5 separate regions of the Homo sapiens genome follow, and all the other regions are linked to region 4. The links are contacts of gene promoters, found by promoter capture Hi-C in blood cells and fetal thymus (Javierre and others, 2016). All regions are on one chromosome and are shown on one strand. The core of a region is centred on a gene start or on the middle of the fragment in contact, and the rest is flanking DNA. Distances in the headings are between cores, read along the strand shown. Region 1 overlaps CDCA7 (cell division cycle associated 7). Region 2 has its middle 7.1 kb from the start of CDCA7. Region 3 has its middle 78 kb from the start of CDCA7. Region 4 holds the start of SP9 (Sp9 transcription factor). Region 5 has its middle 96 kb from the start of CDCA7.

Region 1 (4,719 bases), core at 349-2,848, 970 kb after region 4:
ATTCCGGGAGACTGAGGAGAGTGGATCGCTTGAGCCAAGGAGTTCAAGACCAGCCTGGGCAATATGGCAAAACCCCATCTCCACTAAAAATATAAAAATTAGCCTGGTGTGGTAAAACCGCTTTCCCTTTAAGAAAAGGTCTTATTAAAAAATAACCTACCCAAATCCACTTTTATCTTTGGTGTACCACCACACTCCAGCACCTAGCTATGTATACACACATAATAGATATGCAGTAAATATATGTTGAATGAATTGATTTCTAAATTAGGAGAAAAGATTTACCATGACTACAGACTTACTAAGCAGATAATTCCACTGTGAAAGAGGGCTAAATCCCAGGGATACTGTAAAACTTTTCCTTCCTTGTGTGAAAAAAACATATAGGTACAGATTTCACATGCTAGGCCCTTTAGAACCTGGGCAACGCTTAGGGACAGAAGCTCTCTTCCTCTCACAGATGTTTACATTCTCAGGTGTAATTTAGAGGCTCTCACCAGTGAACGGTTATATATCTTCTCTCGAGAATTGCTGCAGACGTTCTCCAACTCCTCCTCTGTAATTTCTTCCACTGGGCGAATTATATGCGGAAGGGTCACGGATGATCTGGAGCGACGGCTTCTGGGCAGGTCATCTTCCTGCATTACAAGGAATACAAAACACAGAACTTCAAAACTGAAAAACTGAAAGAGATTCAAAACTGAAAAAACAGATTCAAATATGAAACACAGAGATTCAAAACTGGCTCTCCCCAGCTTTGAATCTCAGATACTTGACTTGTAATTTCTTCACACAAACTTCAACCTGGAAATCTCTCCTAGAGCTTATGGTAGGGGAACAGGCCATACGCTTACTGTAGCCTAACTGGACATTTTGGAAACGATGCCTACAATTAAGAAGAGATGAAGAAAACCCAATTCTCGCCTGCTAATAAAATTACCAAGTAAGCTTATGTGACGTTTACAGTTCTGAATGGTTAGAGGAAAACATTTACTATGGATCGCCTGGTGTTAAGGATGTGCGTGTACCTGTGCTGTGTATGATGCCAGGCCTACCGAAGATGAGAATCAGAAGAGCAAGTACCAATGCGGAGAACTCACATTCATGTAGCCATCCACGGTCTTCCTCTTTCTCACCAACATGTACTTATCCTCTTCCTCCTCCTCCTCCATGGGTAGAGCGTCAAGGGACCCGAGGATCCGGGACCTTGACCTGGTAAGAGGACGAGCTCTCCGTTCAGGGTTTCTCCTGGAAGCAACACCCGGGAATGTACGCCTTCGCGGTCTCCTTGATTGCTAAACAAAGCACGTATAAGGGAATCCATTTATTCCATAATAAAGAGAAGTAGTACTTTGGGGAATTCATAGCTTCTCCTTAAGGATGTTTTAAGTAAAGAGAGCTCTATTTTTTCTTTTTCTTTGTCCTTTGCATAATGCATGGCAAAATGAGCCTAAAACCTATATGGCCATCTTAATTTTGCTTTTGTAATACCAAGCCCAGTTTCTTTCAACTTGAGAGATGAGCTATTTATTCTTTTACTTAATGAAGATGTAAGAAATGATCTTCTGTTCTAAAAAAAAAAATTTTCTCTGATGTCTCTTGACCCTGTAGAAACACATTCAGTTTCTACACTGCAAAATAGAGGGATATCTGTATGGCTTCCCTCTTTCCATCTTTCCTTTCCTCAGGGAAAGCCAGGAAAAAGAAATCTTTTCTATCACAGCAGACACACCAAATCTCCCTAAGTTGTACCACCTTAATTCCTCAGAATGCAATTGTGTATGATACCAAGCTACAACTTGATAAGAAATTGTGATTTTCTTCTTTTATTTTCATTCTCCAATTTTAAAAACATCTATTGCACATCTACCATGTAGGAGGAATGTGCTCACACTGGAGAACAGAAAAAAGTTTTCAATCTTCATTACCTGCCCATGAGGGGCTTAGTCTAGCTGGGAAGGAAAGAAAGAACCAATCAAAAGGAGTTTAGTGCCACAGGAGCACAGCAAGGAGAGACCAAACTGCCCAGGATTCAAGGAGGATCATCCAGAGATCTGTCAGGGGGTTTCCTCTAGGTCCCCTTCGTTTGTCTAGAAGGCCACACAAATAAAGAAATTAGATTTTTAAATACAACACAGATCGACCTTAGGTGTGCCCAAAACACTACTGTATATAAACAAGAACTGGTACTTACTGAGTCGGAGCCTGGGAGGGGATGTCTTCCACGGAACGAGCCAGGGAAGCTTTCTAATTCAGACATGAGTTTTGCAAGCTAAAAAGGGAGGAAATTAAACTGATATCATTGGCTTAGAATAACTGTCGAAAATGAGCAACTAACTTCTGGAAAATACTCAAGTACATCTCATGGTTTTATATTTGATAGTAAGCTGACACATTCAGAGTTTCTGATTTCCCCTATACACTTAACCAGGCCTTTAACAGATTTAAAAAAAGTAGTTCAGGGAAAGAAACACATTTTGAGGCACACATTGAAGACTTCACAGGTAAACAAAAATAACTTTTTATTCATGTAACAGAAAAAAATAACTTTTGCGTGATGGAACAGATTTAAGTAATGAGTCGCTTAGAGAGGAAAAATTAATTCTAACACAAAGTCAGATACCTACCATTGCTTTGTTTTGCTTTATATTTAAAGCCCTTTTCTCCAAAAAATTCATTCCACTTTCATCTTCTGAATCGGAGTTGGAATCAGTCACAGAATTCTCTGAGGGCTGGCGGGACTCTGCTTTTTTGTTGGTTGCTCCCCTGGTACTCCGCGCTGGAAACTTCATCGCCACCCTGAGAGGTCCAGAGTGCCTGCACTGGCTGCGGGTCCTACAGCCTTCCCGAACTGACTGCAGCCTCTAATCACAACAATTGAGTCATTAGGACTTGATCAGCAGACAAGCTGCATCAGTATAACTACAAAGTCCCTTTTCAATGAGACACTTGTATGAAATGAATTTTAACTGAACATTGATACCTCTGGGTAACAAAATCAGGAACCACAAAGAGTACATCAACAGAGTGCAGTTTAATTCCATGTAGCCCATCTGGACCACACTGTTATAAGCTATTTTCATAGTCCCTAGGCCTGTGGTTCTGAGCCTTTTTTTAAAATGTTAAAATTCCTACCACCTGCTTTTCATTTCTTTAGAAACAGATCTTTATGTATTTTAAAAGAATTCTGACAAGAACAAATGTGTTCTCCTGGCTGGGTGCAGTGGCTCACATCTGTAATCCCAGCACTTTGGGAGGCTGAGGCGGGTGAATCACTTGAGCCTAGGAGTTCGAGACCAGCCTGGGCAACATGGTGAAACCCCGTCTCTGCAAAAAAAAATACAAAAATTAGCTGGGCATGGTGGCGCATGCCTGTGGTCCCAGCTACTTGGAAGGCTGAGGTGGGTGGATGGCTTGAGCCCAGGGGGCAGAGGCTCAGTGAGCCGTGTTCGTGCCACTGTATGCCAGGGCTGGGTTACAGAGCCAGACCCTGTCTTGAAAAAAAAAAAAAGGGAAAAAAATGTGTTCCCCTATAAATATGGCTTCAATGTTTATGGCAATATTAAATTATATTAACAGATCTCAATTCTCTACTTTAAAAAATATATAATATAATATACATAAGATTTATCATTTTAACCATTTCTAAGTATACAAGTCAATGGCATTAAATACATGCACATTGTTGTGCAGCCATCACCACCATCCATCTCCAGAATGTTTTCATCTTCTCCAACTAAAACTCCATCCATACCCATTAAACAGTAATTCCTCATTCCCTCTTTCCCTCCGCCCCTGGCAACCATCATCCTATTTTCTGTCTATACATTTGACTTCTCTAGGTACTTCTCTAATCTACTTTTAGAAGTTCAAAATGAAAATATTTCCAGATTCCAAAAGTAATATAGGTTTTCATCATTAAAAATTTATCCAAATTAGCCATAGGGTAATGTAAATCAAAATCACAATGCAAGGCTGGGTGCGGTAGCTCATGCCTATAATCCCAGCACTTTGGAAGGCCGGGGCAGGCGGATCACCTGACGTCAGGAGTTTGACACCAGTCTGGCCAACATGGTGAAATCCCGTTTCTACTAAAAATACAAAAATTAGCCAGGCACAGTGGCACACGCCTGTAATCCCAGCTACTTGGGAGGCTGAGGCAAGAGAATCGCTTGAACCCAGGAAGCGGAGGTTGCAGTGAGCAGAGATCACTGAGACCACACCACTGCACTCCAGCCTGGGCTACAGAGCAAGACTCCGTCTCCGAAAAATAAAAATAAAAAAAAACACAAAACATAGTGAGACACCACTTCATAGTAGAGCTAAAAAGCAAAAGAAGGCTGGGTATGGTGGCTCACATCTGTAATCCCAGCTCTTTGGGAGGCTGAGATGGGCAGATCACCTGAGGTCAGGAGTTCGAGACCAGTCTGGCCAAGATGGCAAAACCCCGTCTCTACTAAAAATATAAAAAATTAGCCAGGTGTGGTGGCACATGCCTGTAGTCCCAGCTACTCAGATGCTGAGACACAAGAATCGCTTGAACCCAGGAGGCGGAGGTTGTGGTGAGCCAAAATTATGCCACTGTACGCCAGCCTGGGTGACAGAGTGAGACTCTGTCTCAAAAAAAAAAAAAAAAAGCAAAAGGAAAATAAAAAAAAGTATTAGCAAAAATTTGGAGAAACTGTAACCCTCACACACTGCTGGTAGGAATGTAAACTG
Region 2 (4,244 bases), core at 202-2,701, 990 kb after region 4:
AGAATAGCACAGAAATTAACTTAAGGTGGAAAAGATGGAGGAAAGAGGCAAGGGTGGGTCCTTTGATTCTATTATTAATGCTTTCTTCTTTTCTTTTTCTTTTTTTTTTTTTAAAAAAAGGCTGGGTCTTGCTATGTTGCCCAGGCTGGAGTGCAGTGGTGTGATCATAGCACATTACAGCCTCCAACTTCTGGCCTCAAGTGATCCTCCCACTTCAGCCTCCCACATAGCTGGGACTATGGGTGTACATAACTGCACCCAGCTATCATTAATGCTGTTAAATTAAGTTTAGCCTAAAGCCGCCTCCTTACATATTTTAAGTTCAGCCTAAAGCTTCTCCATACACAATGAACTGTAACCCAACTGGGTATATAAACAGACTAACTTACTCTTGTACCAACCACCATGTTTTGGCCAGTCAAGGGTGACCAACTGTTCAAGCTGTGTTCAAATAAGGCAAACCCTGAGCTGTAACCAATCCAGCTGTTGGTGTAATTCACTTCTGTTTTCTGTACCTCACTTTTTCTGTCCATAAATCTTTTTCCACCATGCAGCTGCTCTGGAGCCTCTCTGAACCTACTCTGGTTCAGGGGATCCCCGATTTGCAAACATTCTTTGCTCCATTAAACTGCTAAATTTAATTTGTCTAAGGTCAGTGCTTTAACAATGCTTTCTTGAAAAATAAAAACCATGGGAAGCAAATATGGCAAATTGTTAAATGTGACAAATGCCAGTGATTAGTACATGGGTGTCTTTTACATGTTTACTTTCTGTGCTTTTTTTTTTCTTTTTTTTTTTTAATCTGAAACATTTAATAATTTTAAAATATTTAAGTTTTGGAGAGTTTGTTCTGACAATCAATATCAATATATTTATTGTGTTAAATATACAGTTCCTTTACAGGGTCCTATAAATAGGAATGCAAGTTTGTCATGCAATTTTAGATGCCTCATAAAGGTTTTAAGTCACTGTATTAATCACACACTGGTAAATATTTTCATTTTAAATGAAAGACACAAAATGAATAAGCATGGAAAATCAGTGTCCAGGGAAAGATGATGGCACAGGCCACAGCAAAAGGTAAAAGGAAATGACATTTTATAAGTACATACTTACACAGACACTACTTGATATGAGGGCTGTTAATACAACAGGTACTCAGTAAATACTTATTATATTTATAAGTATTATTTGTATAATTTAATTTAATTATTTTTTAAGTTCCAGGGTAAATGTGCAGGATGTGATGTGCAGGTTTGTTACACAGGAAAATCTGTGCCATGGGTGGTTTGCTGCACCTAGCAACCCATCACCTAAGTATTAAGTCCTGCATGCATTAGCTATTTTTCCAACTAAAGTGGTTGTAGGTGGAATTTTATTTTATTTTTACATTTTTTCTTTTTTGAGACAGGGTCTCACTCTCACTCAGGCTGGAGTGCAGTGCTCAAGCCATGGCTCACTGCAGCCTCAACTTCCTGCGCTCCAGCAATCCACCTACATCAGCCTCCCAAGTAGCTGGGGCCACAGATGTAGGCCACCACATCTGGCTAATTTTTCTATTTTTTGTAGAGATGGGGGTTTCGTCATGTTGCTCAGACTGGTCTCGAACTCCTGGGCTCAAGCAATCCGCCTGCCCTGGCCCCTCAAAGTGCTGGGATTACAAGCATGAGCCACCATCCCCAGCCCTGGAATTTTAAATCTTCAAAATATTCTAAAATATCAATCTCTTGTTAAAGAGCTTTGAATTCCCTGGGCTACTACAAACCCTAAGAATTCTGTGTTTCTCTATACCTTTTATTCACCTTGCACAAAGAATTCCATTTCCTATTATTAAGTTTGAAACTTGACTGTGAGGTTCAGAGCACTTACATAATGAGGTAAGTTAAACTTCAACTCAGAATGACTGGTTTTCGGACAAAGAATGCAACCGCTAATAGCATGTATCATTTTTAGATGAGATTTAGAAACAATGCTAATGTTTCATGTGCTGCTCTCGGTCCCATGCACCCATCTCTCAGGCGGTATAACATGAACCCAAGCGCCCCTGTAAACCAGAGACCTTCAATAGACCAGATACCCCTGGAGACAAAGGGCTGGAGCAATTTCACTGTGTTTGTGGATATAGACAGTTTGCAGTCTGTCAGGTCACAAATCTCTGTTTTAAATAACCCCTAATTACAGATTTACGTCTCCAGTGCCTGCTTTCAGGATGCATAAAGGCAATATAGCTAAAAGGCCTAACGTTAGGCTTCAATTGTCAAAAGCTGCTCTGTTGGAGGGCCCAGCCCATTATCACCCTGGCTGTTTGGTTCACAAATGCTGGCTCTCCAAGCCATATTGGTATGTTTGTTTTGCATTGTATGTCAACACTGTTTTAAGTAGATCAGTTTGCTGACATCTGACACCTGATTAGAAAAAGGAATATGGAAAAATGAGTGCAAATCTGACCTTTTTTTGGCAAGAAGAAATATTTGTTTTTCCGTGGATGAACATTGTCTATTGTGAAATATATTAACTGCTAGTGTTAAAACATCATTAAACACTTTGCACAAGGGAAAGTCAAGCTTTGATTACTGAATCAGTCAGTTCCAACACTATGGAAGCTGAATTACAGCCAAAACCTAACTCAGCTTACTTCTTACCATCCACAGTTTCCCTGTCACTTGTTCACCTTTCCATAATTTCTTTTTTCCATTTGGCAAAGTTTTTGTCTGTTTTTATGTAAGAATTTTTCATTGTTTTTAATTTGATCATTTTTTTCTCTGGAAACACCCATAAAAGGTGTTAAATGTCTTTGTTCATCACTTAGGCAACTTATTCTAAATTGTCCTAGTTGTGAATTATATAAATCATTTATGTCTTCTTCAGATCTGTTCCTTTCAAGCAACTCTTTGGAAAGAGAATTGCTGCAGAGAGAAGAACTTTATTAACTAAATGGAGACTTAGGGCTCATTTGTAGGTGGTTTAATTTCTGAAGTAAACCAATGCAAGATATTGGTAGGGGGTCCCAGGGAAGAGGCTAATCTGCACATTGTCCTATCAACCTAGAATTCAAAATTAGTCCCCCAGCAGGCCTCAAAAGTTAAACACAGGGCCAGGCCCAGTGGCTCACGCCTGTAATCCCAACACTTTGGGAGGCTGAGGTGGGCGGATCACCTGAGGTCAAGAGTTCCAGACCAGCCTGGCCAACATGGTGAAACCCCATCTCTACTAAAAATACAAAAAATTAGCTGGGCGTGGTGGCAGGCATCTGTAATCCCAGCTACTCAGGAGGCTGAGGCAAGAGAACCACTTAAACCCAGAAGGCAGAGGTTGCAATGAGCTGAGATAGCACCACTACACTCCAAGTCCAACCTTGGAGACAGAGCGAGACCCTGTCTAAAAAAAATAAAATAAAATAATAAAATAAAATTTCGATCCTTTGAACATGGATAAAACTTAAAAATATTATGCTGAGTGAAATAAGCCAAGCACAAAAGGATAAATATTGCCTTATTTCACTCATATGAGGTACTTGGAATAGGCAAATTCATAGAAACAGGCCAGGCACAGTGGCTCACACCTGTAATCCTGGCACTCAGCCTGGGAGGCTGAGGTGGGTGGATTACTTGAGGTCAGTTGCCGCGAAGAAGAACCAGCACTGAGACAAAGGATTTCTCAGCAAGGCAAATTTACTTTGGCAGAAGGGTGCTGCCTGTGTCAGTCACGATCACAAGAGCACACAGAACAAAGTAGAGTAGGGATTTTTATTCGTAATGCAGATTCTACCTCTGTGTCTTTCCCCCATTGGCTGGGGTTGGACTGCACAGTCTAAACTAGTCCTGATTGGTGAAATATTCAAACTTTCTTAGATAAGGTAGGCGCGTAATAGAGGAGAGAGGGAGAGGAGGAAGCAGTCACTTCTGGGGGACTAAAAAGCTAACCTATTCCCACATAAGGAAAGGAATGTGGACTGGGGCTTATCATATCTAGGCATATTTAGACAGGTTAATGCCCAGCAAAAGCCGGGGTGGGGGGGTACTTGGAATTTAGAGAATAAAGAATGGGGGAACTTGGCAAACTGTTTGAAGAGGAACCTAGCTGTATCTAACATCAGGAGTTTGAGACCAGCCTGGCCAACATGGTGAAACTCTGTCCCTACTAAAAATATGAAAAAATTAGCTGGGCATGGTGGTGCATGCCTATAGTTCCAGCTGCTCCAGAGGCTGAGGCATGAGAACTGCTTGAACCCAGGAAGTGGAGAT
Region 3 (4,335 bases), core at 251-2,750, 900 kb after region 4:
ACATTCCCCTTGTGGAAGTTGAGAACAGGCTGTAACTTTTGAGTGTTTGGAAGCAGCAGAAGTGGATTAAACCCCAGGGACTGGAACTGCAGGCAGGACTGCTCTCAGCATCTGAAGTAATAGGAAAGAGAGGGGAAAACTCCCCTAACGGACATGTACAGAAATTAAGGGATCTTGCCTGAACCTCTCAAGTTGAGAAAGAATGGAGCGAGCGAAAGAACAAGGAAGGAAAGCAGAGACCATAGAGGCTGCAGTAGGCCATGCTGCATGGGCTCACAGGGCAAAACCATCTGGAATAGAACAGATTGTTTCAGGCTGCAAATGCTGCCAGGTCACAGGATTTCTGGGATTTCTCTCTATCCCCTTGGGCAGGCTAGAAATATAATTCTAAGTATAGTCATGGTAATTATTTTTATCTTTGGGTTGTAAACTAAGTGTCCTTAACCAAGGAAGGCAAATGGGTCTTTATCCATCCAATCTTGACTAGAATTTTAGAAGAGTAATTCTCTGTGGAGGAGAGAGAGAGTTAAATGGTCAGAAAGTTTAAGAAACTCATAATATCATCCCCTTCTCAGAGACATATAATGTACAGAGCAAAATAAAGTCCTTTAGGCCTATTTGAGTTGAAAAACATCTTGTTATCTCAGTAGTTTTCATATTAATTTGAGTCACAGAACCTTTTTTGGCTTGCATTTGGGAAATCATTGCTATAGTGTAGTGGGAGATAAGCCTCTTGTCTAGCCCTGCCGGTACCCACTTCCAGACCCATCACTCAGAGATGTGCAAATGTATAGCATGTTCTCCTCTTTCTGGGAAAGACCAGAATGCAAATAATTCTAACTGGGAAGTTAAGTGTCTTTTTCAGCAATGTCAGTTGGGTAAGGCTTTTAATGGGACCTATGCTTCTGCAAATTAGGTTTTCCTTAGGAAAAATGTTCCCTTACTAAATCTGGGTTTAGACAACACAGACTCCAGACAGGCCCTGTTGTCCTCTCTGGAAGTGCCCTCACACTGGAAGACTAGGATTGCCGAATCCCAACCTTGACCCTTTGACAAAAAATTCCAACCTGAGCAACTAACCCAAACTTTGGGAAATATATGACATCAAACCATTGAATTCTAGCATCTTTTAGATGACAAAGAGGAAGGTTCCAGGGATGGGGCTCTGCTAAAAGAAATAAATGTAACTCAAGTAACCATAATCTTGGGAAGAGAGCAATTCTTATGCAGGGAATGAGGAGGCAAATCTGGTTGAAGAATCTTTTCATTTCTCCTGATCTGTAAGAGATGGGCTCTGGACCCCAGGGCGGGAAACATAACCGTGCTACGTGTAAGGGGAAGAATGGCTGCTGACAGTCTAGAAAGAATGGTACTCAGGTGGGTATCCCTGTGATGATGGAGAGCCAGATGCTGAGAGCAGTCCTGCCTGCAGTTCTGGTCCCTGGGGTTTAATTCACTTCTGCTACTCCCAAACCCTCAAAAATTACAGCCTGTTATCAACTTCCACAGGGGGACTGTGGGAAGTGTCTGTGTCCACCACATTCAGGAGGAAGCAGGACAAAGAGGGACAGAGCCGGACACCAGCTGCGACAGGGGGAAGAGCAGGGTTGTGGTCCAGGACTGGACAACTGGATCAGGCAATAAACAAGCAGGAGACAGATGTGGAAATTACAAGGCTGGACAGACAACATGGGGTCTCAGATGAGTGTGATATGAACACCAGAGTGATGAATTGGGAACATTTGGGATATACCAACATTGCTCATCTATTTTTCTTTCCTTTTTTTTTTTTTTTTTTGAGATGGAATTTTGGTCTAGTTGCCCATGCTGGAGAGCAACGGTACGACCTCGGCTCACTGCTGCCTCCGCCTCCCAGGTTCAAGTGATTCTCCTGCCTCAGCCTCCAGAGTAGCTGGGATTACAGGCGCCCGCCACCACACCTGGCTAATTTTTGTATTTTTAGTAGAGATGGGGTTTCACCATGTTGGCCAGATTGGTCTCAAACTCCTGACCTCAGGTAATCCACCCGCCTTGGCCTCCCAAAATGCTGAGATTATAGGCGTGAGCCACCATGCCCAGCCCCTCGTCTATTTTTCTGTTGAATAAGAAAATAGAAAAGGCTCTAAGAAAATATCATCTTGACAGAAATGTCTATTAATAGTCTTCACAGCCAAGAATGACAATACAAATAGTAGTGATCAACATATAAAGGACAGTCCTTTACTCCCACGTATACTTGGAGCCAACTGCCTTTATTATGTCAGTGTTGATAAGGAATCGTTGCCTTGTTTCTCAGAGCCGTTTTGAAGTAAGCATGCTGTACACCTTGTGATTGGTCCCCTCCACTTCAGTTGGCAGTCCTCTATGCCTTCTCAATCACAGGGGATTAAAGAAGCAAACATTTTAAAAAACCAGAATGAAAGATGTTCCCCAGTAGTTCCAGAGATTTATTTTCTCTTCTTTACAAAAGAAGATATTCTAGAAGATAAAGCCCAGAAGGTCCTCAGGTCTGGCAGAAAAATGTTCTCCTGTTCAAATATATACCTACTATAGATTCTCTGTCTTTTAAATTAACATTATAATTTAACTGTCTTATGTACAGAATAGTAGTGAAACAGCCGACCAAACTGAACTTGATACTAGATATCATGACTCATTAAAGAAAAAACGCAAGTAACTCTGTAAAATTGTGTAAACACAATTTAAAACTAGCTGGGGCCAAGGCAAAGGCAACAAGGCAAAACCAAGCAGTGTTAACATTTAGGACACCGTGAATATTAACTCAGAGTCTGCTACTCACTGGGGAGATCTGTGGGCCAGTTTGCTTAAATTCAGAGCTAAAAACACCTTTTTAAAATGTCAAACATGCATAGGATATAAAGAAAAAGAACAAGGTGGAGGCAATTAGCAAAAATAGAAAATTGGGGAAGTGAAATTTTGGCATTTGTATTTTGATCTCATGCAGAGATAAGTGGAGCTGTGAGTCAACTGGGCACAGGGACGTCGTGTCCAAGGCTTGCCTCACATGGTTGTGCTACAGAAGCTTCCATGGGGGGCACGTATGTGGTCAGCTTCTGATGGTATTGGCTGCCTGACTCACCAGCAAGGGACCTAACTGAATAGCCATGGTGTCCCATATTTAAAAAGCCGTACAGAAGAGATTATGTTTGAAGCCCACTAACCATGCCGTTTTTGACCTAGGATGAGTTATTTACATCTTAGGTAGTAATAAGTATCATTTCGAAATAACATTTAAAGAGACATAATAAACATATTCCAAATAGCATTTGAAAAGCTAACGTGGGCAGGAGACTCCCCCAGCGGGGGCCAGTCTGTGGGGTATGGAGCCTCCCTGTGCCCCTCGGTCCGACCTTGTCAGCATTCTGCTTCCACGCCAGCCTAACTTGCTCCTCTGCGCCATGACCACCACCACTACCTTCAAGGGTGTTAACCCCAACAGCAGGAATAGCTCCCGGGTTTTGCGGCTGCTGGGTGGTGGATCCAATTTTTCATTGGGTTTTGATGAACCAACAGAACAACCTGTGAGAAAGAACAAAATGTCCTCTAGTATCTTTGGGACACCTGAAGAAAATCCACCTTCTTGGGCCACATTGGCAGGTGCCAAGTCTAGAGGTGGCGGAGAAGACTTGGAGTCATCCGGACTGCAGGGAAGGAACGCTTCTGAAGCAAACTCTGCAGATTCTTAGATCTGAAGGGAGAAGGTGACATTCATGAAAATGTGGACACAGACTTGCAAGGCAGCCTGGGGCCGAGGGAAGAGAAGCCTGCACCTGCTGCACCTGTGCTGAGCCCCGTGGCCCTGGCCCCAGGACCATCCATAGGAAATCCCCCTGGTGGCAAGTGCAGCCTCATCCTGGGTTAACTCTGCTCTGACCATCCTGAACTTCGTTGTTTTGTTTGTTTCTCCCATGCTTGTGAACTGCACTACTTGAGCCTGACTGTACATCTTTTGAATTTATTTCATTAAAAAGGAAGCACTTTTAAAAAATAAATAAAATAAATAAAAAGACAAAATATCAACTACATGGTTTCTATGCTATCCCTGTGAAGACCTCTAAAGGTTTTTCTACTTTTCCTCGCTTTAAAAAACTTTTCCTGTGTCTTTGTTTCTCAATGATTTCAAGATGGTCTTGAAACCACAAAATATGTAACTCGGAGAAAGGATCAGGGTAAAGGGCTGGAGGATTCCATTCGCTGAAGTCTGTCAATGTTACCTATTGATGGAATAATGGCTATGAGGAAAGCTATAAAAGCTGCCCAGATTGAAGGCTATGGGGAACGGTGTTTGTCAGGACATGTCAAAAGATTTTAAAA
Region 4 (4,520 bases), core at 1,829-4,328:
TTTCAAATGTTCTGACAGTCCTTTGCTGGGTGGTGGCTTGTTTTTGAGAAAAGGAAAGAGACGGGTGTTGGAGGGAGGTGGAGAGTGGGCAAAGAGGGAGCCTTTCTATGTATTGCTCTTCGCTCGAGAAGTTTGGGCGAGTGGTATGTGTGTGCGCGCGCGAGTGTGCGTGCTTGTGGTTGTAGGTCTCCGGTGTATGTGTACGTCTGGGAGTACAGTTTTTAAAGTGTTTGTGTCGGAGGATGGTTCGCTTTTGTTTCCGGACCACGCGTTCGATTCTTATCCGGGCGCGGAAGGCAGAGGGGAGCTCCTCGCACAGCGGGCGAACCGCAGCCCGGGAGCCCTGAGCGGCTCCACCTCGCGCCCAGCCCGGGCCCTGGGGGCGTCACTGAAGCCCCTGCCCTCCCGCCTCCCGCTCGCTCGCCCTCCGAACCTCTCGTTCGTTCTCGGTGTCTCTACTCGCTTGTGTGCTCGCGCCTCTCGCCCGGCCTCTAAGAGTCGTTGGGGCCAGACGCTGCTTCCTTGCCTCCCGCGGAGGCCGCCGCCGCCGCCGCCGCCGCTGCCGCCGCCGCCGCTGCCGCCGCCCGGGCGGCACTGACGCCGGAGTCATGCAGGATGAGGTCGGGGGATTCGGAACGGGGCGTCTCCAGGTTGCTGGCGTCCGTGTCACTGTCGCTGCCCTTTTTGCCCCCGCCGCCCCCGTTGTGCGTCTTAATGTGTTTGCTCAGGTGGTCGCTGCGCATGAAGCGCTTGTTGCACACCGGACAGGCGAAGCGCTTCTCGCCCGTGTGAGTCCGCAGATGCCGCTGCAGCTCGTCCGAGCGCGTGAAGCGCTTGCCGCAGAAGAGCCAGTTGCACACGAAGGGCCGCTCGCCCGTGTGCCAGCGCAGGTGCGCCTTCAGGTGCGACGTCTTCCCGTACACCTTGCCGCAGCCCGGAATGTGGCAGCTGTGCAGGCCCTTGCGCCGCAGGCTCGCCCCGGCCGGGCCCAGCCGCTCCGCCTCCTGGCAGTTGGGGCAGTCGCAGGTGGCGCGGCCCGAGTAGCGGCGGGCAGAGCGTGCCGAGCTCCCCCCGGCGGCGGCAGCCGCGGCGCCCGATATCATGGCGCTGGCGGCGGCGGCTGCCACGGCGGCGCTGGAGTCCGAATAGGAGGGCAACACCGGCTTGAAGCCGTCCTGGGCCAGCAGGTGCTGGCTGGTGGAGAGCAGGTGGGAGGCGGCGGCGGCGGAGGAGCCGAGGCCCGTGGAGCTGAAGGCGGAGTGCGTGAGCGAGCTGAAGTCGGGGTTGTAGGTGCCCAGCTGCGAGTGCAGCGAGGCCTGGGGGGCGCCCGAGTGCAGCGAGCTCTGGAGCCCCCCAGCGGGGTTCTGCACTTCCAGCCACGAGCCCGGGCTGCTGTGCACGTCCCACCACGACGACGCCGCGCCGTTGGTCACCTCGCCGGCCGCCAGCGTCGAATGGAAGCCCGACTTGTACCAGGACTCGTACGGGTGCGCCATGCCCACGCGCGGGTACAGCCCGTCGGCTGCCGTCGTGTGCACCTTGGAAATGAAGGCCGACTGGCCACCCGCCTCCTGCGGGGACACCCCGGCCGCTGCCGCCGCGGCAGCCGCCGAGTTGGAGAAGAGGCCGCCGTAGTCGCTGCTGAAGGCGGACGACGTGGGCGACGTGGAGGCCAGGCAGAAGGCGCTGTTGGCGGCGCCCGAGCCGCCCGCCAGGCCGCCCGAGCCACGGCCCCCGGTGGCCACCGCGAAGCCCGAGAGGCTGGAGCCGAGGTTGCAGCTGGACGAGGAGCGCTTCCAGGGGTGAAAGCCGCCTTTGGCGAAGGCGCTCGACTCTGGCAGCGTCGTCAGCGGGCTCGTGTTGCCGATCTTGTTGCAGGTCGCCGCCAGCATGGCCAACGGGGTCGTTCCGAAGCGCGGCTCTTCCTAGAGTGGGTGGGATGGGGGAGGGAGCAAGAAGGAGGAGGGCAAGAGGAAGTGGGGGAAGAAACAAAGTGCACCCGTGAGCAGCCTCGTCCCCTGCGGCTGCTCCCGGGGGGTCCTGGCTCCCCGCCTCGCGCCTCCTCCCCACGCGCCCGCGGAGGAGTCGCCGCACCGGGCGCGGAGCAGGGGCGATCACCCGGGCGAAGGTCCAGGCGCCGGAAAGTTGCACTTCGCTGAGGCTATAAATCAAAGATGCCTCCGTGTTCCCCGCTGCAACCCTGCCTACAACCGGACTTGGGTTGTCGCCGTAAACCGGCTCATCTCCCAGAAGACCCCAAGTCGCCCTTCGGGGTGAAGCGCGAAGGTAAACACAGAGACCAGAGACAACAAACACCGGGTGAGGGCGGAGGCGGCCGAAACAGCTGCCAGGGACGGGCGAAACTTGCAGCTCTCCCAGGGTGGCTACGACTTGACTTTTCTTTTTTAATAGAAAACGTTTGGTTTTAAAGTTTACATACACACAAAAACAGCGATTATGAAAACAATAATCCGAGGATAAGCGGCCAGAGACAGATTTCAAAGTCATGGGCGAATTGGGGAGCCGCGGAAATGTAAATGTTTATTAGCGTGACTAGATGGACTGCAAAACGATTAAGACTGTTTTCTGGAAACACCATTGTCGCATAATTGCAACAAAATCCCCAAAGCAATGCGGGGGATGGGGTATAAATCACGAGGGGAAGAAAAGAAACCTCTAGCTTTTTTTTGAAACCAAATGAAAAAGGACTTGATTAAGAAGGCCTTTTCTTGCAAAGGCATCTTTCTGGGTTCCAAAAACTTGGGGAAAAATCAGTCCCAGAAATGTGGAAAGTGCTAATAGAAGCTGAAGCTGCAGTCTAGCAGCAACAGTTTCTCCGGAGCCGCAGACCCCAGAAGCCATAACGAAAAATTACTCCGGTTAAAACAAGCAAATGCGTTGCCGCGCTTGCGACTTACCCCGAGTATAGACGTGGCCATAGCAGGTCTCTGGCTGCGCAGCGAGGCTGGGAGCGGGGCTGAGCCTGGCGGCTGCTCGGAAAAACTGCTTGGGTCCCGCGCGGCTCCCGCGTCCCCGCGCTCGTGCCGAGCGGACTCCAGGCTCCCGCCGGCTAAACTCAGCCTAAGTGCGAGGAGCACCCGCTTTGAAGTGCCGCTGGCTGCGCCTCTCGCCCAATGAGGGCGCAGGCAGAGCAGACCGGAGCTGCCCCGCAGCCAATCAGACGCTCCGAGGGGCCCGAGCCCGGGCTCCCGGCGCGTGCCAGTCAAGTCAGCTAGCTAGGGCCGCGGGGGTGGGGGGGAGTAGTGGGGGATACTTGCGGGGGGGGGGCGAGGGCGGGCTGGGGACTGAAGAAATTACAGTGCAATTAAAAATTTACACTCACGCACCAAGCCAGGTTTAAGTACCAATGAAACCGAGCCACAAGCACCCCCCCACACACAAACCACCCCGAGATGTTGCAAGTTAGGGCTGACAGTCCTACTCGACTCCCCACTTGTAGGAAAGGAGGCAGGAGGGGAGGAGACACCCAGACACAGCCCGCACCAGCAGGGCCCAAGTGGAGACGGAAATGTGAGCCCTCACTTTGTGTGTCCAGGCTTTTGCCTACAGAACACAACTTCAGCTTGTATCTATCATTCTTGCTTGTGATTTTTATCATTTTCGTGTGTCTTCTACCCAATTCCTTATTCCACTAGATTCAATTTCACTCTCACAGTTATACTGGGGAGGGGGCGCGAAGGGACAGCTCCTCCGAGAGGAGCGAAATAGGCCTCTCTGTACAGATCTACATCCACAGATTTGTTGGGAGGGCCTGGAGCCTGCTGCATCCCGCCATTTCCCCCCAGCGGTGTAAGTGACTTCCTAATTGTCGCTCTGGCCTCTGACCCGGGGGGTAATACAAGTGCCACTCACGCTAGAGGCTTCTGGTGGTAATTGAGGGCACCCTTTGTACGGTTTCGCCAGCGCTTAGATACCAGGTTAACCCAGTTGTCAAATATGACTAAACAGTGGGATGTGCTGATTATCTGCCGGGTTTTGCTGTGGGCTGGCATGGGGGTGGGAGGCATCAGCCCATACAACACGCTGCACGAAGCCGCTTATTTTCTCACTGTAACAACTTTGGAAACAGAGACCGGCGCGAGCGGCGTCCGCCCCCACCTCCACCTCCGCTGAAGCTGCAGCTTGCTCGGCTGTTTGTTTAACCCGGTGAAGATTTGCATGTCGCGTTTCATCCTGGAGTGGAGTTTTCTTGTCCCAGCTCCAACCCACTCCCATTCCAGACCACCAGGGCCTAGAGGCTCGTCCGTAGGGCAAGTGCGCTGTTTTAAGAGGTAGGCTCCCCATTAGTGCCCTGCTTTCACGGACGCGCCCGAGAAATCTCTCCAGGACTTTCACCCGGGAGGGCGGAGGACCAGGCCACACGTGGGCGCTTCCACATTTTGCAGGCTGGAAGCATCCTGAAGTCCTCCCTGGACCTTGTCAGTGTGAAAAGAGGCGTCCTCAAGCAGACCAGGGTGCGTCTTCGAGTCCCCCAGCAACCGCTGACCTGCTTGTTTTTC
Region 5 (4,801 bases), core at 1,425-3,924, 880 kb after region 4:
TTCTCACCATCCCCCTCTACCAAAGAAACAGCCAACTCTCTTGAACACATGTACACTCACAACCTTCATTTCCCTACCCATTCTTTCCACTTATCCCTGGTGAGCTCCACCGCCATTGCAACTGGCTCAATTAGAGCCCCATCTCCTTGGCCCCCTTTCCCCATCACACCCCCAGCAGGAAGTTCTGCTGCCACACGCTGCCCCAGCTCCCCAGCCCTGGCTCCCTCCCTCTGAGCAGTCAATACACCAATATGCCGCAGCTCTTCAAATCTCACCTTAAAAGCTTCCCCTACATTTCATTTTGGCGGCAGCTCTCAATGCAAAATGTTTTGGGACACTTTGTATTAAGTGTGTTATTGGCACTAATGGTACATAAAAATCAATTGTATTAAATCTTCATGACTTCAGGTAATTTGTCTGGGAAAATGACATTCTCCATTTCCCCCTAGGATTTTGAATTTGTCTGTATGTTCTTTTTCCCACCTCGGTGCTGTTTTGAACAAACAACAAAAATTACATAAACTGTCGAATATCCTTTTCTTCACATTTTCCCTACTGCACCTTCTCATTGTGTGAATTGGCACAGTCTCCTGAACGCAATTGTGTTTACTTCTGGGCATACTGTATAATTTAAGTTTCTGCAATATAAAATAAGTCTGCGGCGATATTTTTACTTGTTCCGACAATGTCCAAAGTTGTCTCTCACTGTTTTTATTTAAAGGAACTAGACACAAACCTGGCTGCTTTAACCACGGCCTCTGGGAGGGCTACAGCTGAGAAAATCCGCTGTCAGGAAGAAGTGAATAGAACTAACAAGACTATTGAGCGCGCCAACAGATTAGTGAAAGGTCTGGAGGTGAGGTCCTACAGGGCAGACTAATGAAGCAGGCTGCAGAAAGCACTTCTTTGTTATACACTACTGATCTGGCAATAACAGCAGCACTTAGCAAAGAGCCTGATGAGCTGAAAAAATTATGTCATTATCATTCATTTTTTTCATAATAGAAACATGTTTTTGACCTTTACATTTTCTTACATTTTACCATGCTGCGGCCTGTATTAACTGTAAGATTACCTAGTGACTAGCATATTCACGAAACCCTACAGGAAAGGGAACAGCCGCTCTTTCCTGAGTATTGACAAATAAAGTTGATGCAATAAAAAAAAGCAAAGACTTTATTTGGAACAATTAGACAATGCTAATGACAGAGCCCTAGGTTGGTTTTCCACGAAGCGCAATGCAATTTGTCCGACTTAGTTAAGGAATATGATAATGCCCTAATTATCTGTCTAAGATGTGCCCTGGATATTACAGAGGAGACAAAGGATAAAGAGTGGCAAACCATGAATTATCCGAAATAATCCATATTGTTAAAGGTTGGCTCCTGAGAAAGTCTGGTCACTGGCAGCTTTCTCATTTGCCATTCATCTATTGTTAATTTCATCTTTTGTATATATTCAAATTTTTTCCCTGGGTTAACATGTGTTGGGAGAATGTCTCTTCTTGTTCCCTGCCATTGTAGGAGGCATGTTTTTTTGCAACCAGCAGCTTTCCATGCCTTTCTTTTATTTTGGTAACTGGACGTAGAGTGGGCCAAGAAAGCATCAACCCACTGCTAATTAAACAGATTTATCCAACTGGATATTGTTAGGAGAATTTAAAATATAAATTGATGAGTGCTTGTTTGGTGCCATTTGAAGTAAAAACTGAAAGGATTTATGGGCTGAGAAGAAAAAGTCTCAGTGTCTCAGATGAAAGCCAGAAAATTTAATGAATTTAAATGTATCCCACCAGGGTGGCCATATTTCTTCTCACTGTGAGACACTGATGCCTCTCAAATTAATGGAAGCAAATTACTATCTTAATCTGACAAATCTATCACTGTTTTATCAAATCAGTTTGCTGGCTCTCAAATAGATCGGGGGAAATAGTAGAGGAGTATCAATGGACTTCTTTCAAAAGAGTCGTGGGCACCCAATACTCTAAAAGACCGTCCTGAGCTCTGCTGTCTTAGACTCACTTCCTCAGACAGAGGTCTTTATGCAAAAATACCTGTAGGAACAAACTCTAGGCAATACCACACTCGAAGCCCACAGAGGGCTGGACCTCTGCCAGCATTTTCTGTCTGTTGCTCTACCTTTTCCGACATAATGAATCTGTGGCCTCCAGAGAACATTTACGAGGACTGTGAACACAGGACGCCTGTGGGGAGACCTGGCTCTCCTGAGCAGCTTTCACTTTATATGCGAGCTCCTTTGCAAGCCAGACCCCCATGCAGCCTGTTGAGAAACCACATTGCCATAACTAACCCGTCAAGTAAATTCTACCACCCCATGGTGGAAATGCTCAATGTGTCTACTCCAAACCTTCTTTGTGGAAATACTTGTGCCATTTATTTGGAGGCATCCTATAGCAAACCGAAGCGTTGGGGATTCTGTAGCCATGTGGAAATGCATGTGCTTCTGTACTTACTTCCATGATGACAGAAGCCAACCACGTAAGTGTCACAGAAACACTGCCATCTCTGCTTCTCTGGCAAATTGGACAATTAAGGCTTATTTCCTACAAGTATGTCTTTCTTTCTTAAGTTGTGTGTTCTTAGTACTTAAAAATGTTTTGATAGTTAGCCCATTAAATATTACCATTCTGGAGGTGGAATTTGCTTTAAAATGTTTCTTTTCCCTTTTTTTTTTCTTTTTTTTTTGCTTCTGCTCTATTCATATACTCTTTCATATTTTCTTTCCTTCTAGTTTTTCTTCTTTTCTTCAATACACTCTCCTTCCTGCCTCTTTCGGAAAAATCTTCCTGTCTTCTTGTCCTTCCTTCCTTCCCTCTTTTCCTTTCTCATTTCATTCTGTTTTTCTTTCTAGTATTTTTTCTACTGCATTTTTCTGAGTTAAGAATAAATCTAATTACTACGATTTTTTAAAAAGATAATTATTTTAAAGCAAACTATTAACTGTTCCTGTAAAAAAATGGTCTGTTACAATAAGCTCTGTGTTTACAGTTTAAAATTTATTTTGGAATAATCAGTGTCTGCATTTGTAAGTTCTGTTCATTTCTCTCTCTTTGGTATTGTACTAATAGCCACTTCATTATCATTTTAAATAATTCTTTGGTATAATTCATTATTAAATGTTGTTTTGAGAATTGTTTTCTCCAAGACTATTTTATTACCATCATGAAATTCATTTAATTAGTATGCTTGTAAAATTAGTACAAATTTTAAAAATAAAATGTAGAGATGTTACTAAGACTCGTTGCTTTAAAATATACTGCTGTCTTTTGGCGGGGAAATCTCAGAACATGAATAAAAATATTAAGAGTATATATGTTCTTCAATCCAGGAATCCCATTGCTAGGACTTTATCCTAAGGAAATACAAATATGGCAAGCATTCACCACTAGAATATTTGTTACAGCACTGTTTATAATAGCTATAAAGTGGAAATAACCTCAATGGCCCAAAACTGAATACTGGCTAAAAAAGTTAGGGTCATCCATTATATAAATTATCATACACCTGTTAAAAATTATATTGTAGGCCGGGCACGGTGGCTCACGCCTGCAATCCCAGCACTTTGGGAGGCCGAGGTGGGCGGATCACGAGATCAGGAGATCGAGACCATCCTGGCTAACACGGTGAAACCCCGTCTCTACTAAAAAATACAAAAAAATTAGCCGGGCGTGGTGGCAGACGCCTGTAGTCCCAGCTACTTGGGAGGCTGAGGCAGGAGAATGGCGTCAACCCGGCAGGCGGAGCTTGCAGTGAGCCGAGATCCCGCCACTGCACTCCAGCCTGGGCGACAGAGCGAGACTCCGTCTCAAAAAAAGAAAAAGAAAAAAATAAATATACATATATATATATATATAGTAGAAGAATATTTTTCATCATATGAGAAAATGTTTTGAGTATATTTTGAAGTAAATAAAACAGTTTACAAAATAAGATACATGTTGTGATCTCAGTTTAGTAGTACATTGCCTCTCACCTCCAAATCTACTTTCATGACCTGTTTTGCTTTCATAGGCTGGACCCTTCAAGCATTTTTTCCTTTGCAGCGAGAATGAGGTTTAGCTTGTCGGTAGAGGGCGCAGGAGAGACACTGCAGGAGGAAGAAGCTACCCCACGAGCCCCGCCCAAGGTTCCCGGACGTCCGTCGGACGGCCGTTGTTTTTCTACTTGCTCCTAGCGCACCACTGCCAGAAGCCTCTGCCCCTGCCACACACCCAGAGCATGCAGTTTCTCTGCAAGTTCTCAGAGAGCCCCAGCCGGTGACCCCCAACAGAGACACCACTCACCCCGGGCCTCTATCTGTCCTGCCAACAAGATGACTCTTTGTGCCCTGGCTGTCTCTGAGGACCTGCCCTGCAGACATATGTTCCCCCTTTTCCCTGCAACCATGCACCAGTTCTGTCTCAGGCAGCCAGGAGAGCTCCACCATTCAATGGAGCTGAGAATCTCTTTTCCCTCACTGTCTGAATCCGTCGTGGGGAAAAGGACCTCCTTCAAAGTGGTTCCTCCCGATTTTCATCCTCAGCCCTAGGATATTGTTTAGAGCATTGTTTTCACCTTCCTAGTTAGGCCTACGTTATAGTTAACAATTATTTATAATAAATTTTCCCTGTTCAAATTACTGTGTGGTTTCTGTCTCCTGATTGGCCTATGACTAATAAACATGTTTATGTAGAAGAGAGGAAAAAAAAGACTGAAACAAAAAGCCAAAACGTTAACAGTGGTTAACTCTGGGTAGTATAATTAGAGGTTGTTTTTATTCTGGCCTTTGTGATTTGCGATAT

What was found. Contacts are between HindIII fragments. The CHiCAGO score rates a contact against its expected background, and 5 or more counts as called.
Region 1: a fragment that was not itself captured here is called in contact with the fragment with the promoter of SP9 in region 4 in 3 of 17 cell types (fetal thymus, total B cells and monocytes); the score reaches 7.3 in fetal thymus.
Region 2: a contact is called between a fragment that was not itself captured here and the fragment with the promoter of SP9 in region 4, in 2 of 17 cell types (total B cells and fetal thymus). The highest score is 10.8, in total B cells.
Region 3: a contact is called between a fragment that was not itself captured here and the fragment with the promoter of SP9 in region 4, in 1 of 17 cell types (activated CD4 T cells). The highest score is 5.5, in activated CD4 T cells.
Region 5: a fragment that was not itself captured here is called in contact with the fragment with the promoter of SP9 in region 4 in 3 of 17 cell types (neutrophils, total CD4 T cells and monocytes); the score reaches 6.0 in neutrophils.

What each region holds. Positions count from the first base shown.
Region 1 is chr2:173,361,371-173,366,089 of GRCh38, reverse strand. CDCA7 (cell division cycle associated 7) reads right to left here. Exons shown (of 10, transcript NM_031942.5): 4 at 2,628-2,864; 5 at 2,195-2,272; 6 at 1,101-1,295; 7 at 498-638. Among named protein-coding and RNA genes, the nearest start is that of CDCA7, 8.9 kb to the right of the region's middle. The HindIII fragment of the contact is 1,295 bases long and covers 951-2,245 here.
Region 2 is chr2:173,345,689-173,349,932 of GRCh38, reverse strand. No RefSeq gene overlaps it. Among named protein-coding and RNA genes, the nearest start is that of CDCA7, 7.1 kb to the left of the region's middle. The HindIII fragment of the contact is 2,231 bases long and covers 336-2,566 here.
Region 3 is chr2:173,430,897-173,435,231 of GRCh38, reverse strand. It overlaps the pseudogene JPT1P1. Among named protein-coding and RNA genes, the nearest start is that of CDCA7, 78 kb to the right of the region's middle. The HindIII fragment of the contact is 3,090 bases long and covers 1-3,045 here.
Region 4 is chr2:174,333,512-174,338,031 of GRCh38, reverse strand. SP9 (Sp9 transcription factor) reads right to left here and starts at 3,078. Exons shown (of 2, transcript NM_001145250.2): 1 at 2,919-3,078; 2 at 1-1,925. The coding sequence starts at 2,939. The coding sequence ends at 492. LOC102724194 (a long non-coding RNA gene) reads left to right here and starts at 3,056. Exons shown (of 3, transcript XR_427194.5): 1 at 3,056-4,292; 2 at 4,407-4,475. RefSeq lists a silencer at 937-1,146. The HindIII fragment of the contact is 13,141 bases long and covers 1-4,520 here.
Region 5 is chr2:173,448,668-173,453,468 of GRCh38, reverse strand. No RefSeq gene overlaps it. Among named protein-coding and RNA genes, the nearest start is that of CDCA7, 96 kb to the right of the region's middle. RefSeq lists an enhancer at 2,139-2,208. The HindIII fragment of the contact is 4,778 bases long and covers 286-4,801 here.